Linked DNA regions of Homo sapiens: region 2 is linked to region 1. Evidence: promoter capture Hi-C in 16 types of primary human blood cells and fetal thymus (Javierre and others, 2016). All regions are on one chromosome and are shown on one strand. The core of a region is centred on a gene start or on the middle of the fragment in contact, and the rest is flanking DNA. Distances in the headings are between cores, read along the strand shown. Region 1 holds the start of PRLR (prolactin receptor). Region 2 overlaps SPEF2 (sperm flagellar 2).

Region 1 (2,991 bases), core at 79-2,578:
TAAACTTTGCAGAAAAAAAATCGAAGCCCAGAGAGGGTAAGTATCTTGCCCAAGTTTGCACAGCTGATGGTCAGGATTGGGATTAGCAGCACTTCCCTGGTCAAGTGAAGCACGATTTCAGGTGGGAAATCTTGCCCGGTCAACTTGACAAATGAAGACAAAGTGATCCCTCCAGACTAATAATAATGTTTTGCAACCATTTTCAAGTCCAGTCATAGAATCCCCTACGTTGCTTGTTTTCAGGGCAGTGTGGGTTGCTTCCCCAGGATACAGGTAGAGGTCACTAAAAGGATAGTTTTCTACTCAAAGAGCCAGAACTCCAGCCCTTGCCTTCCCCTGCCGTAGCACTCGGGCCGGCCCTCCAGTTACCTGAGTTTGCCTGACTTTAACCAACTCCTCTTCCCTTCCCTCCTCCCTTCTCCAGCGGGCTCTCCTTCCAGCTTCCTCCCGGGCTGCAATTCCTCTGCCTAGGTGCCTCCGTCCAGCTCCGGCTTCTGGCCCGGAGGCTGCTCATCTGCCCCTACCCCCGCTGACTTTTGGGAGGAGCAACACCTTTCAGGTCAGCATTGCTAACCCTAAACTTTCCCCGCCGGATGCCCGCGAGGCTGCTGCGGCGGCGGCTGCTGCTGATGGGAGAGTCTCGAGTCCGGCTTTCATCACATCACCTGTCTGCGCCCCTTCCCCCTCCCCGCTCTTTTTTTCTTTTCTTTTTATTTTGACGCAAATAATTTGCATTCTGAGAATCCCACAATCAACGCCGAAACTCATGCTCAAGGATACAGGTGAAGATGCCTTTGACAAAGGCGAATGCGAGCCGAGTGCAGTTTGTAAAAGCTGGGGTTGGGGGCAGTGGTGGAGGCAAAGCACCTTAAGAGTATTTTTTAGCCCCTCTGAGAAGGGACATCCGGGCGGGAGGCGGGCGGATCCCGGGCTTCCCCGCCGGCTGCCGACTCTGGCTCCTGGCTGGCGTTCTCTCCAGGAGCCCGCGCCGGTGGCCCCGCTCTCCCCTTCAGCACGCGGGCCTCGAACCCGCATCCCGGAGAGCGGCCGCCCGCGCAGCCCCTGCCGCGCGCCGTCGGAGGCGGCCTCAGCTCGCCATGGGTACTCACTTTTGCCAGGGAGCAAAGTCTGCCACATCAGTCGATGAGTACTTCCTGCACGAGGACATGAAGCTCCATTGTGTGGAAAGCTGTTTCGCGAACGGTCGGTAAAATCCAGAAAGAGGGAGAAGGAGTGAGTAAGGCAGAAAGCCCAGCCCAGAAAACCGGCGTCTGGGGATTTCAGCCTCCGCTCCCCGGTCCCCAGCCCGGTGGCTCTGTGAGAAGAAGCTCAACTCGGTGCACTTGTTCACTCTTTCTTCATGAGAGGAGGAGTCAGTGTTGCAACATTTATGTTCCTTGCTGGAGGCAAAACAGTGATTTTCTTCAGCATGCAAAACGTCCAGAGCCTGCCAGTTTTAGAAGGCGACGGAGGTAGTTGGGGGAGCTGGAATCCTGCGAAGACCTGAAGAAACAACTGATTCCCCCCAGATCGGTTTTGCATGATTAGGGCCACATATCTTTCATTGAGACTGTACCAGAAAATAGACAGACAAAACAATAATAAAAATGACTTAGTGAGTTGAATGACCTCAAAGATGATATTTTTCCAGGCAGCCAAGATGTGGAGTGTCTCCGTGTCAAATTTCTTTCCTTATTTCTGAGTAACATTGAACAGCAGCTATATTTGAGAGGTTCTCCAGGGATTTGAATTGCACCTTGCCTGAGGAGTCAGATAGAAAGGAGCAAAAGAAGATAGTCAGTGACCTAAGAAGGTTTTGCTTTTTTTTTTTTTTAATACCCAAAGCGCAAACTTCTAGTGTGCTGTGTTTATTCTCTGCCATATGAATATAATAAACATTGGCGGTGCCTAAATAGCCCCACTTCTGTTGTTTTCCACAAATAAAGAATTTATCTTTTCTAATGGGCTGCATGTTGTTCTGACTTTTCTTCTTCTTGAAACCACACACAACCGCCTTTTCTCTTGCAAAAACAAAAACCCCACATTTAACAGTGCTGAAACAAATAATAGCACCTGCCTGAATCAAATAGTTATTTCTGACTATGTATGTTGCTGGTGTCATTTGATGCCATAATAATTAATGCATCCGATTGTTACACAACCCAGAGGGCCACCAAGGAAATACTTTAAACCAAGGTTACTGAGTTTTTTTTTTTGTTTGTTTTTGTTTGTTTTTTTGAGACAGAGTCTCGCTCTGTCGCTCAGGCTGGATTGCAGTGACCCCATCTCGGCTCACTGGAACCTCTGCCTCCTGGATTCAAGCAATTGTCCTGCTTCAGCCTCCCGAGTAGGTGGGACTACAGGCGCGTGCCACCATGTCCGGCTAGTTTTTTGTATTTTTAGTAGAGATGAGGTTTCACCCTGTTAGCCAGGATGGTCTTGATTTCCTGACCTCATGATCCACCCACCTTGGCCTCCTGAAGTGCTGGGATTACAGGCGTGAGCCACTGCGCCTGGCCGTTTTTTTTTTTGTTTTGTTTTAAGTTATTGAAACATGAGGCTTTCCCCTTTGATTTGACTGCTACTCTGGATAACTGGGAAATCACAGTTAGCAGTGAGCATTTGCCAAGCCACAGGAAGCCATTGAAAATCCCATGATGCTTTGGTGATCCTTTTGGACTGGAATCCCAGAAGCAACTACCTAGGCATAATAACCTAATACTTCCTGATCAATAACACGTCCTTATTAAAACATAGACTCCACCTGGTTCTGTTAGCTGATGGGAGATGCATCTTTCACGTGCAGACCGCACATGCTTCCTGTGATGATTAGGGTATATTTACTTTCATTCATGGGTGTCCATGAAGGTACGCAACTTCTATTTATTTTCAGAACCACTGGGCGACATGAGATCCTCAGTGGCAGAATATTTCTATATGACCTTTGCAAAGCAAAGGGTCACTCAATTCTACAATAGTTGTTCTAATCAG
Region 2 (3,286 bases), core at 271-2,770, 550 kb after region 1:
AAGTAATTCAGACAGATCACATAGGATTATCATCTCCACTTTAAAGGTCTAGATACTGACTCACAGAGGAGTTTAGCAGATTTTTTGCCTATGGTCATATATCATTCAGAACTCTGCAGATCCAAAGTTCTTGCCCCTTCTCACTGAACTAAGTTGCCTCTCATAAGCAGATTTCTTTTACTTTTCAACATATACTACTTATTGGGAAATTATTACTTTTCCCTGTAGCATAGTCAACTGACTTTAGTATTAATACAATGTTACTTTTTAAAAAAGTCCAGTATTTCCAGAAATTCACATCATATATCATTAGTAAAAAGAGCATTACTCTAAGTCCGAAAGCTTCCTTGCCAAGCCCAATAGGTGAAATTGGTGTATGTGTGTGTGCCTGGGTGAACCTTGCGCTTTGATGTGTCAGCTCATCAAATCAGCTAGAGCAGGCTTTACAGCTCCAAGGTATAAAAGCCCACACTTCAGCTGTGGAGGGACGGAGGTGCCATTTGGCAGCATTTGGGCACGAAGGAAACATGGCCATCAGCAGGTACAAAAAATCTCGACTTTACAAATCAGTCCATGAAATTCCTTCAGTCCTTTAGTCAGACAGAGTGCACCCTCTTCTACATGGTGCGAGCTCCACAATGCCCTGTTATTATGTACTTCCCTCTTCAGAGTTGCTTTTTCTCTTCATTTTATCCAGGCCATTATTTTACACATAAAATAAAAAGATAAGTGTAAGTGGATTCTAAACATGACATGTGGTTTGCTTTAATCCTACACTCTGGTGACTGGGAGGAAATCACTCAATTAATAGGTAAAAACTAAAGGCATCTGGGGACACTTGAATAGGTAGAAGTGGATTTTGAAAATTATCATCCACTTACAATATATCTTTCAGCAGGGACCCTAGTATCCATGATGCTAATCATAATACTTTCTTGGATCCAACCTCAAATCCAGAGCTCATATTTCCACTAAAAATTTAAAAATAAATTTTAAAAAATAGCAGCTATAACTTGACATGTGTCTCAGAAGATTAACTCTAGAAACCCTTGGGACACAAAGATGTCAACAGATAAATGTTTTCAGACTATGGGAGAAATAAGAAGGGAGGGAGAGGAAGTAAAGGAAGGGAGGGAGGGAGAAACGGAGTTGTTTTTTTTTTAATTTTTATTTTTTTAAAAGCAGAGTAAAAGGAAACCATTTGCCCTAGGAGCTGAGAGTTTAATTTGAAAAGGCAAGCAAAGAGGAAGGAAATATGAACAACTATTTGAGTTCTTTCTGGGACACAGTATGAATGTTATTCAAGTGCTCAAGAATGCAAAGCATCAGTGTGCCCTGAAATTGGTCAGGGAAAAGTCTGTGGAGCAAAACTTTGGAGGGAGAAATTGAAGAGGGTAAAGAGATTTTGTGGCAAGGCTACAGAGAATGTTTACAGTTAGGGGAACAGCTGCTGGAAACTCTGTAGACAAGAAGCGTGAGGATAGGAGCATGATGTTTGGGAAATGTTTAGGAGACTGCTCTGCTTTTCTTTCTCCAACTGCATGAACTCCAGGCGAGTAGAAGAGGAGGCTTTCTCTGTGTGAGGAACCACCTCCTCCCACCCAAGCTGGAGAATTAACCCATATGCAAGAATAACAGTTGTAATTACCACAGAATTTACAAGGCTATACAATACGGTAGGATTTGGGGATTGTGATGATTCAAAGTGAGTTATGTATGGTCTATGGGCAAACAGTTTAAACTCTTTTCTCTATTAGCTCAATTATACCATTTGAAAAAATATATATTGCATATATTGCTTTTTAGGTATATCTAAAATAATTAATAAGTGTTGGGAATTTGATTGACAGGAGTAACGTTCATTGTTATTATTCTTGCTATTCTTATAGAGGGCAGGGAAAAGTATTACTCCATTTTTCTGCATCCCAGAGTCACAGAATTGGAGGTTCTCTACTGATACTCTTGAAATCAGGCTCCAAACATTGACAATGGCCCTGCCTGAGGAAACCCATTAACTGCCACTCACCCCTTTTCCCCATCTCTTCTGGCCCCACAAAGTATACTCTGGCTTTTTTGTTTTTCTACCCCGGTTTGGCAATTGTTCACTTAAGAAACATGACACACACCCATCCGTCTTTTAAATGAAGGCTTTTGTTGTATTTCTTCCAAGAAATGGAAAACAATCCTTTATGATACCTTCCACTGTATTTACCCTAGAACTCTATAATTTCAAAACACAATCTTAGTGAGTGATAGCAGGTTTGAAAGTGTGGAGGAGCTGGCTGAACATGTGTGTTTCAAATGTGTGATCCTGCAGAACTTCCTGCTCAAACTTGCTATTATTTCTATGCCAAGAAATAAAAACATTTTCCTATATTATTTCATATATGCCCATGCAATCCATAATATCTAAGATGCAACTTTCAAGTTCACTAAAATATATTAAAACAGATGGATTTTTTTGGGAGGGAAGCATACATATTTATTTGCATATAACAGCCATTATGTTACTAGGCCCATGGTAGGATTTTTTAGCAGATTTATAAAAAGCACTGATGTTACTAAATTACACTTTGCATGTTTTAATCATGCCACACAAATACAAGTATTGGATTATTATTTAATCTTTGATTAGAACAATGACTGAATGCTTTAAATACTTGCAACTAGATAGTATCAAGATGTAAATGGAAAGAACTAAAGCTTAAGGGGTTTTCTGCTAAGTATTGGTTAATCCCTTTGAAAACAAAAGTCTCCATTAAAATAGCCCTTACTAAAGATAACATAAAATTGAAAAGCATCATATATTGTAACATATTCAACACTCCTTTTCTGGTCAAATTCTGCCACTTATGATGATTCTACCTCTCTTTTGGTAAAGGTAATGATTAGACATAAAATATTATTTATTGATTATTATTAACACAAATATACCAGAAAAAATAATGACCTTATACATGATAATCAAATTAGATCATGCAAAATGCAATGAAACAGTTGATTACACTTGCATTTTTCCTGCCACTTAACAAAGATCCATACTTTAGAAGCATAAGAACAGTATGAGTAAAAGAAAGCAAACCATTCTTTCCATCACCTATCCTAGGAATCATTCCTATGAGCGTACTACCGGCAGAGTTAGATCTAGTGAATATTTTCTGAATTATAACAATAGCCAATTTGGCATGGTCACTATGTGTCAGACCCTTTGCTAACATTTTCATATGTGAATTCACTTATTATCCACCTCAGTCTATGATGGGATGGCTAGAGTCAAACAGTTCTT

What was found. The method cuts DNA at HindIII sites, captures the fragments that hold promoters and counts their contacts. A CHiCAGO score of 5 or more calls a contact.
Region 2: a contact is called between a fragment that was not itself captured here and the fragment with the promoter of PRLR in region 1, in 1 of 17 cell types (M0 macrophages). The highest score is 5.3, in M0 macrophages.

What each region holds. Positions count from the first base shown.
Region 1 is chr5:35,229,159-35,232,149 of GRCh38, forward strand. It overlaps PRLR (prolactin receptor), which reads right to left and starts at 1,329. Exons shown (of 10, transcript NM_000949.7): 1 at 1,110-1,329. The HindIII fragment of the contact is 6,146 bases long and covers 1-2,991 here.
Region 2 is chr5:35,779,993-35,783,278 of GRCh38, forward strand. The region is part of intron 30 of SPEF2 (sperm flagellar 2); the gene reads left to right. Among named protein-coding and RNA genes, the nearest start is that of IL7R, 75 kb to the right of the region's middle. The HindIII fragment of the contact is 2,361 bases long and covers 341-2,701 here.